3 separate regions of the Homo sapiens genome follow, and regions 1 and 3 are each linked to region 2. Evidence: promoter capture Hi-C in 16 types of primary human blood cells and fetal thymus (Javierre and others, 2016). All regions are on one chromosome and are shown on one strand. Each heading gives the region's core, a stretch centred on a gene start or on the middle of the fragment in contact. The rest is flanking DNA. Distances are from core to core; before and after follow the strand shown. Region 1 has its middle 15 kb from the start of SMG1. Region 2 holds the start of VPS35L (VPS35 endosomal protein sorting factor like). Region 3 overlaps PDILT (protein disulfide isomerase like, testis expressed).

The links. Contacts are between HindIII fragments. The CHiCAGO score rates a contact against its expected background, and 5 or more counts as called.
Region 1: a contact is called between a fragment that was not itself captured here and the fragment with the promoter of VPS35L in region 2, in 1 of 17 cell types (monocytes). The highest score is 6.0, in monocytes.
Region 3: a contact is called between a fragment that was not itself captured here and the fragment with the promoter of VPS35L in region 2, in 1 of 17 cell types (naive CD4 T cells). The highest score is 5.0, in naive CD4 T cells.

The regions. Positions count from the first base shown.
Region 1 is chr16:18,939,682-18,942,389 of GRCh38, forward strand. No RefSeq gene overlaps it. Among named protein-coding and RNA genes, the nearest start is that of SMG1, 15 kb to the left of the region's middle. The HindIII fragment of the contact is 5,220 bases long and covers 1-2,708 here.
Region 2 is chr16:19,554,441-19,557,260 of GRCh38, forward strand. VPS35L (VPS35 endosomal protein sorting factor like) reads left to right here and starts at 1,263. Exons shown (of 31, transcript NM_020314.7): 1 at 1,263-1,306. The coding sequence starts at 1,290. RefSeq lists enhancers at 858-1,337, 897-1,859, 1,718-1,947. The HindIII fragment of the contact is 7,423 bases long and covers 1-2,044 here.
Region 3 is chr16:20,390,188-20,393,121 of GRCh38, forward strand. All of the region lies in intron 2 of PDILT (protein disulfide isomerase like, testis expressed), which reads right to left. Among named protein-coding and RNA genes, the nearest start is that of PDILT, 13 kb to the right of the region's middle. The HindIII fragment of the contact is 1,753 bases long and covers 590-2,342 here.

The DNA.
Region 1 (2,708 bases), core at 204-2,703, 610 kb before region 2:
CGGCCCTCCTGCAACTTTAAATGACCATAAGGATGATTCATCTATCACCTGCTACCATCAGATAACTGATGGCAATAAATACCTGAGTTTGAAGATATAAATTTGAAAAGAGAGGAAATACTACTTGATTCCTAGGATCAATACTACCCTCCCCACCATTTTCAAAAATAATCTCATTCTGTGGTCTAAGAAAAATAAATAAATTATAAAATAAATCATTAACACTAATCTTTGAAACAGTATTTCCCAAATTATGTTTCTTAGAACATAGCCCCTCGAGGTATGAAAATGGGACTGGGTGTGGTGGTGCATGCCTGTAATCCCAGCACTTTGGGAGCCCAAGGTGGGAGGATAGCTTGAGCCCAGGAGTTTCAGACTAGCCTGAGCAACACAGCAAGACCTCCATAACTCCCCGCCCCTCCCCCTCAAAAGAATTAGCTGGGTGTGGTGATGAACATCTGTAGTCCCAGCTACTTGGGAGGCTGAGGTGGGAGGATCACTTGAGCCCAGGGAGTCAAGGCTGCAGTGGGCTGTGATTGCGCCACTGCACTCCAGCCTGGACAGCAGAGGGAGACTCTCTCTCAAAAAAAAAGAAAAAGAAAAAAATATATAATTTGAGCCACATATGTAATTCTAAACTTTCTAGTAGTCATATTTGAGGAAATTAAAAACAGGTGAAATTCATTTTAACAATATATTTTATCCAAAATATTATCACTTCATGTAATCAATATACAATTATTAATGAGATATTTTGCATTCTGTTTTTGATAAGCCTTGAAAGCCAGTGTGTATTTTACTTACAGCATATTTCAATACAAAGTAGCCACATTTTAAGTGCTCAGTAGCTATAAGTGCTTAGTGGCTACCATATTGGTTTCTGTTAGTCTAAAACTACCACTCTTGTTTATATGTTCTTTCTTCTAAAGAGTTTATTTTTATTTATTTATTTATTTAATTTGTGAGATGGAGTTTTGCTCTTGTGACCCAGGCTGGAGTGCAATGGCACAATCTCAGCTCACTGCAAGCTCTGCCTCCCAGGTTCAAGCAGTTCTCCTCCCTCAGCCTCCCCATTAGCTAGGATTACAGGCACCCACCACCATGCCCAGCTAATTTTTGTATTTTTAGTAGATACGGGATTTCCTCACGTTGGCCAGGCTGGTCTCAAACTCCTGACCTCAGGTGATCCACTCACCTTGGCCTCCCAAAGGAATGGGATTACAGGCATGAGCCACCGCTCCCAGCTGCTTCTAAAGAAGACCTCCCCTGAGGTCAGGAATTCGAGACCAGCCTGGCCAACATGGCGAAACCCCATCTCTACTAAAAAAATACAAAAATTGGCCGGGCGCGGGTGCTCACACCTGTAATCCTATCACTTTGGGAGGCCGAGGCGGGCAGATCACAAGGTCAGGAGATCGAGACCATTCTGGCTAACATGGTGAAACCCCATCTCTAAAAAAAAAACAAATATAGCCGGGCATGGTGGTGGGCGCCTGTAGTCCCAGCTACTTGGGAGGCTGAGGCAGGAGAATGACGTAAACCCGGGAGGCAGAGCTTGCAGTGAGCCGAGATCGCGCCACTGCACTCCAGCCTGGGTGACAGAGCAAGACTCCGTCTCAAAAAAAAAAAAAAAATTCAAAAATTAGCTGGGTGTGGTGGCAGGCACCAGTAATCCCAGCTACTTGGGAGGCTGAGGCAGGAGAATCGCTTGAGCTCGGGAGGCGGAGGTTGCAGTGAGTCGAGATTGTGCCACTGCACCCCAGCCCGGGCAACAGAGCTAGACTCCATCTCAAAAAAAAAAAAAAAAGAAAAGAAAAGAAAAGAAAGCTATTTCCCAAGTTTTGATGTGAGTAACCAGTGTGTTGGTGCCATTTACTGAGATAAGAAAGGCCTGGACAGAGGCAAATTGGAGTCAAGAGTTCTGTTTTGACCATGTTAAATCTGAGATGTGCATGAGATTGCCAAGTGCACATGTCAAGCCAGGAGTAGGGTCTATAAACATGTGGCCTAAATAGGCAAATTTGAGAATCATTGGCCTGAAGATGATACTTTAAGGATATGTGTGGAAACAATGTTACAGAAAATTGGCTCAAGGAAAAGGAAAGTTATACATTTTTAAGTGCAATTAAACAAATTTAAAAACCTAGACTCATCCCTCTTAAAGGCCCTTAAACATCCCTAGAAGCCTCCTTCAGAATCTTGAAGTGTGAACTCTTGTTCTTGGTCTTCTAATTAATCCTGCCTTAGAGTCTCAAGGGCCATTCACAAGCAAGAAGCCTTTTATCATCTCTTGTAAAAAAGAACCTGCAAGAGCTGCTTCTCCTGCTGTATTTCCATTATATCAGTGCTGTTTTCTGAGTTTTTTTTTAATTGCAGTTGTGCAATATTTAAGTCACCTTATAGTTTAAATAAGTGTTTCCAGATTTGCCTTGGGAAATAAGCAGTTGATGCTGTCTCTGTGGGAAAAAAGCTCTGAGGTATACACTTTTGGAACACAACCTGCTGCCTACAAGTTAGGAATTGCCACGTTTGGTTTTAATAAGACCCCACCCTTAACTCCAAGGAGTTTATAATGTAATAATAAACATAGTAACACCAGGGCTGGGTGTGGTGGCTCATGCCTGTAATCCCCACACTTTGGGAGGGTGAAGCAAGAGGATCACTTAAAGCCAGGAGTTCAATACCACCCTGGGCAACATAGTGAGACC
Region 2 (2,820 bases), core at 13-2,512:
CACTTCCAGTGTTGGGAATAGCAGGTACGAGTGGATATACTTTCCTACTCATACTGAGCTGAACACTGGAGGGCCCGTTCTGGAGATGATCCTTTTCCCTGTCATAGGTCACCATCTCATGAACAACCACAGACCACCACCCCCGAATGAAAAGTAAGAGTTATAAAAACATCGAATGCTTTCTCTCTAAGGGACCATAATGGATATCTAAGTAAGTTATAAAAGTAATAATTAAAAAAAAAATTTTTTTTTGAGATGGAGTTTCGCTCTTGTAGCCCAGGCTGGAGTGCAATGGCGCAATCTCGGCTCACTGCAACCTCATCCTCCCGGGTTGGAGCAATTCTCCTGCCTCAGCCTCCCGAGTAGCTGGGATTACAGGCGCCCGCCACCATACCCAACTAGTTTTTGTATTTTTTAGTAGAGACGGGGTTTCACCATGTTGGCCAGGCTGGTCCCGAACTCCTGACATCAGGTGAACCACCCACCTCGGCCTCCCGAAGTTCTGGGATCATAGGCCTGAGCCACCGCTCCCGGCCTAAAATAATTTTTAAAAACGTTCTGTGGTCGAAATGGATATCCACCTTCCTAGAAACACTGCTTTGCCAAGTTGGACGAAATGCGAACCCTAATTTCCCCACGTGCATTAGCTGTAGTCAATCATATTAGATCTAGGGCAGCCCTCGGTTGCTAGTCGTGGGAAGGGCATTCTGCAAGTGTCTAAAACCGCCCGCAAAGCAGTGGGTAAAGCAGCGGCCTAGAGGGGGCATGGCTGTCCCACGCCAAACAGCGTATTAGCCGCAAAACCAGGTACTGGCTGAACCTCAGTTTGCGTCTTCGCTCCGCCGCCTTCTGGAGTCCTTTCTGCCCCTAGAGGACGCAGGTGAGCTAAGCAGCAGTCATGCCCTTTACCATCATGACGCCCGCAGGCGGGACCACCCGGCACTGTAGACAGCTGCCCTTTACAATCATGACTCATAGAAACTACGGCACTCTGGCCGTGGCCGACGTTGCTCCTCCGAAGCATGGCGCCGGCGGGAGTTGTAACCCGGGCTGTCCGGAGCGGGGAGCTGCCCCTCACAAGCATGGCGTCAGCTGAAAATGAAGCCTGTGCTGTGCGGAGCGTCGCCTGCCCCTCACAAGCATGGCGTCTGCAGAAGGTGCTGTGCGGCCGCTGCGGGGCGGCCAGCTGCCCTTCACAAACATGGCGGCCGAGGGGTGCGGGGAGTGGCGGGGTAAGGATGGGAAGCCGAGCAGACGGCCCCAGAACAAGCGGTCATGTGACTGGGAAGATGGCCGTCTTTCCTTGGTAAGGAAGCAGCGGCGGGTGGGCTTTGGAGAGGGGCTGTCCTTACTTGTGATGGGGTCGGCCTGGGTCTGAGAGTGTGAATTCCTCTCTGTCGGGTTCTGGTGGTCGACCGGCCACCCCCAAGTTGTCTTGACCGTAGAATCCCTGGCCGCTACCGCGGTCCAGCGGAGCAATCTGAAGCCAGACTGGCGGGTTCTTGGTTCTCTCCCCGTCTGCTGCCTCTCTGCGCCTTCCACGGGCCCCTGTCCATTCATTCCCTAAAGAAAACTTGAGTTTCCAGGCTTCCGCGTCCCCAGAAGTTGGCGCGGGTTCTGGGGTCGCTGGATGAGGGTAATGGTGGACTCAGCTTTTAAAGTCTGGACGAGTCGGGAGATCTGGCTGTTGGTCAGTTTCCTCAGCTCCTCTGTTCACCTGGAGACTTGCTTTTCTCATCTGTAAAATGGCCGCCATTCATCCTATCCTAGGCACAGCCCTCAGACTTATTCCTTGGCCTCAAGGAGCTGACAGTATAATGGGGCAGACGCACAGTAGAGGGATGTCTAAAGAAGGCATTCGGATGAGGCACCAAGAAGGGAGTGATTATCCCCACCAGGGGGCTAGGGGAAGGCTTCAGAGAGGAGGAGTTAAATTGGGTCTTGGAGGATGAATAGGAGTCCACCATAGGGAGGGCGTGGCGTGTGCCTGGTTGGCAGGCCCGTAGGTCCCTTGTGGTTGGAGTAGCTAGGAATGAGTGACTGAAGCTTCAGGGTTCAGCAGGTGGTATGTGTGTGAGTGAAGAACTTGAGGAAGTTGTGTTGTTGATGATAGTGGGATTTGGGGACGGGGAATCTCTCCTGCATCTCAGAAAGCGAGATAATTTACTTTCTCTTCAAATGATGTGAAGTAGCTTAGATTAAATGAGCAAATGAAAGACCTTAGAAATAATCAGGTACAACCTTCTGCTTTTGAGCTTGATAAACACTTCATTTTGTCTTATTCCTTTCATTTGCCCAACACTTAAGAGACTGCTTCCTTGACACGCTACATCAGCATTGAATGCCTCTGAGCACTTCCACACCCTGAGGTTTTTTTTTTTTTTTCAGTTAATAGTCATGCTGGCTGGGTATGGTGGCTCACGCCTGTAATCCCAGCACTTTGGGAGGCCGAGGCTGGCGGATCACCTGAGGTCAGGGGTTCGAGACCAGCCTGGCCAACATGGCGAAACCTAATCTCTACTAAAAATACAAAAATTAGCTGGGCTAAATTAGTGGTGGCACGCACCTGTAATCCCAGCTACTTGGGAGGGTGAGGCAGGAGAGTCGCTTGAACCTGGGAGGCGGAAGCTGGAGTGAACCGAGATCATGCCACTGCACTCCAGCCTGGGCAACAGTGAGACTCTGTCTCAAAAAAATAATAATAAAAAATGAAAAAGTCATGCTGGCTTGACCAAAAAGCTAACCAAAAACATGAGAAACATTTGACTTCAGTGGATTTATCTGAAGTTTGCAATCAGAAAATCCAGGAAGATGCTGTCT
Region 3 (2,934 bases), core at 216-2,715, 840 kb after region 2:
TCAATCTCTTCTTGTTTCTCAGGGGCCAGCCACCAATTTGTTTTGACCATTGCAATGGCCTTTAAGTTTTTAAAAGATCTGTACCTCCCTATTTTTCTGGCCTCATTTCTTAGTCCTCTTCTCTTCAGAAACCCTATATCTTTAGCCAAATGGGCACAATCTCCCTCACCCCAGGGTATTTTTACTCTCTGTTCCTTCTGCCCTAAATCTGCATGGATCACTGCCTCACCACCTTAAGATCTTTGCTAAAGTGTTACCTTTCCAGGGAGGCTGTCCCTGGCCATCCTATTTAATACTACAGCCCCATCTCCATCCACCCCATGCATTCCCTATCACTCTTGTGTATTTTTCTCCATAGTACTTTTAACCGTAGGAAATACTATATATTTTACTTATTTTTCTTTTGTCTTCTCTCACTAGGATGTCAGTTCCAGGAGGGCAAGGATGATCACCTGTTTTGTTCACCACTATATCCTCAGTGCCTACAATATATCTGGGAAATAACCGTATTCAATAAATACTGAAGGAATGAAGTTTCCAATGATCAGCACAGTGCAAGAAGATGAATTTAGCACCAGTTTTGGTGTCAAGCTTGGTCTCAAATCCAGTCTTCACCACTTACCAGTTGTGTGACCTTGGGCAAATGATCTAACCTTTCTGACACCTACGTGCTTCATATACAAGATGGGGACAAGGTTTTCAAGTGCCGTGCCTGAAACACAGGTGCTTGATAAATGGCCTTTGTTATCATCACCATTGTTGTCATTATCATCACCATAACCATCATCACCAGCACCATCATCACCACTGTCATCACCATCACCATAACAATCATCGTCACCAGCACCATCATCACCATTGTCATTATCATCAGCATAGTTAATAATCATTATTACCAGTACCATCATTGCCATTGTCATCATCACCATCATAACAATTATCACCAGCACCATCATCGCCATTGTCATCATCATCACCATAGTTAATAATCATGATCACCAGTACCATCATCACCATTGTCATCATCATCATAATCGTCATCACCAGCACCATCATCGAAATTGTCATCATCACCATAGTTAATCATCATCATCATTAGCACCATCATCGCCATTGTCATCATCACCACTATAATTAATAATCATTACCATCACCATCATCACCATTGTCATCATCATCATCATCTTCATCATTATTCCATCCACATTACCGTCTCCACATCATGCTCACCATCATCATCTAACCTACTCCTAGGACAGAATCTTGTCACCTCTGCCTTAGGGACAAGTGATAAAGGACCCTAGACAGCTCCTAATCTTATCTTGACCTCTCTCCACTAATGGTAGTGAGTCCTTCTCTCCTTGATTCATTCAAGTTAATGTGGATGGAGAAAATTATGGGCCAAAGGAAATCTCATTCATTCATCTATTCATTCATTTAACATCTATGGAAGCCTACCATGCTCCAAGCACAATGCTGAATGTTAGGAATCAGGAGATGAATAAGATTTGGCCCCCAACATCATGCAATGTACACGATGAAAAGCAGTTTTGATACCATATAGCGAATGCTGAGAGAGAGAGGTTAAAAAGAAGGCAGTGGGAGCATAGGAAGGCCTCCCAGCCAGACTAAGTGGGAGTGAAGGTGGGTACAGCCTACCAATGAGGGGCATAAACTTCACAATCCAGGTGAAGGAGTGTAGGAAGGATACTATGGAAGCTGCAAGTGCAAAGGCCCAGAGGCTGTAGCTGTGGGCTAGATCAAGCAGAAGACCTTAGCTACTGAATGACCTGATCAGATTTGCATTTTAGAGGAAGTCTCTCTGGATGCATTGCAGGACAGCATTGGAGAAGGCAGGGAGACCATCTCAGAGGCTGCTGCAGTGGTTCAGGTGAGGAATAATGAGGCCTGAACCAAGGCAGTGGTGGTGGGATGGGGAGAACAGAGATTGCAAAGGGATTTAGAAAGTGGCATCCACAGGACGTGGTGATGGATTACATGTGAGAGTAGAAGAATCAAGAACAACCTTGAGGTTTCTGACTTTGATACTGAGTGGATGGTGGTACTTTCAGTGAAGGCAGGACATAAGGAGCAGCAGATTGTTGGGACCAAATCAAAGATGCTGAGGTCTGTCGTGGACATGTGGCAATGTCCACATGTGGACAATGTGGGACTGCAAAGAACATTGAGAGGAAAGCTCCCCCAACCACTGGCTCTTGGCCTGGAGTTCTCAGAGAGAAGAGAAAGCTGGTCACCCATTAAGGATCTGAGACTGGGGTGGTCCCTGGGGGCAGTGTCTGAAAATAATCTCTTTTGCAAAGAGCCCATTTACCCTTGAAGAAAGCTTTCATAGTGCTTTCCCCAAGTGATTTGTTTTTCCAAAGGCCACTTTAGAAGGCCGGCTAGTTTTTTTAAGAACTCATTTTGAATTTAATTATGTATTGGCAGGAATCAAAGATGCAAATGTAATGAGATTAATTGAGTGTCCCTTTTAGATAAGAAAATTTCTGCTGTTGTTGAGTTCACTGCTTTGAAATACCTGCTAGTGGAAAGGCTTTAGGTTTAAAGTATGCATGTTGGTTGTGTCAAATGCAATTCAAGAATGTGAAATTGATTGGTTCCCTCTGTAGCCTCAGATTTAGTGTCAGTTCTTAAGTCATAAGAATTAAAGAACCATGAACTCACCCTTCTGCCCTGGTTAAAACAGAGCAGAGCCTTCTATTCTCATGTGGACTGGACAGGTTTCCCAGCCTTATCCATCCACTGCACCATTTTTGGAAGGGGAATGTGTTGAGGTGTGTTATGTGTTTGTGTAAATGTATGGCTCTAAGCCTTTTAACACCTCCATTGAGGGTCTCAGATTAGAAATTAGGGCTGCAGCAAAAGAGATGGTTTGGATGTTTTATCTATGTAAACCATTAGTTTACCAATTCC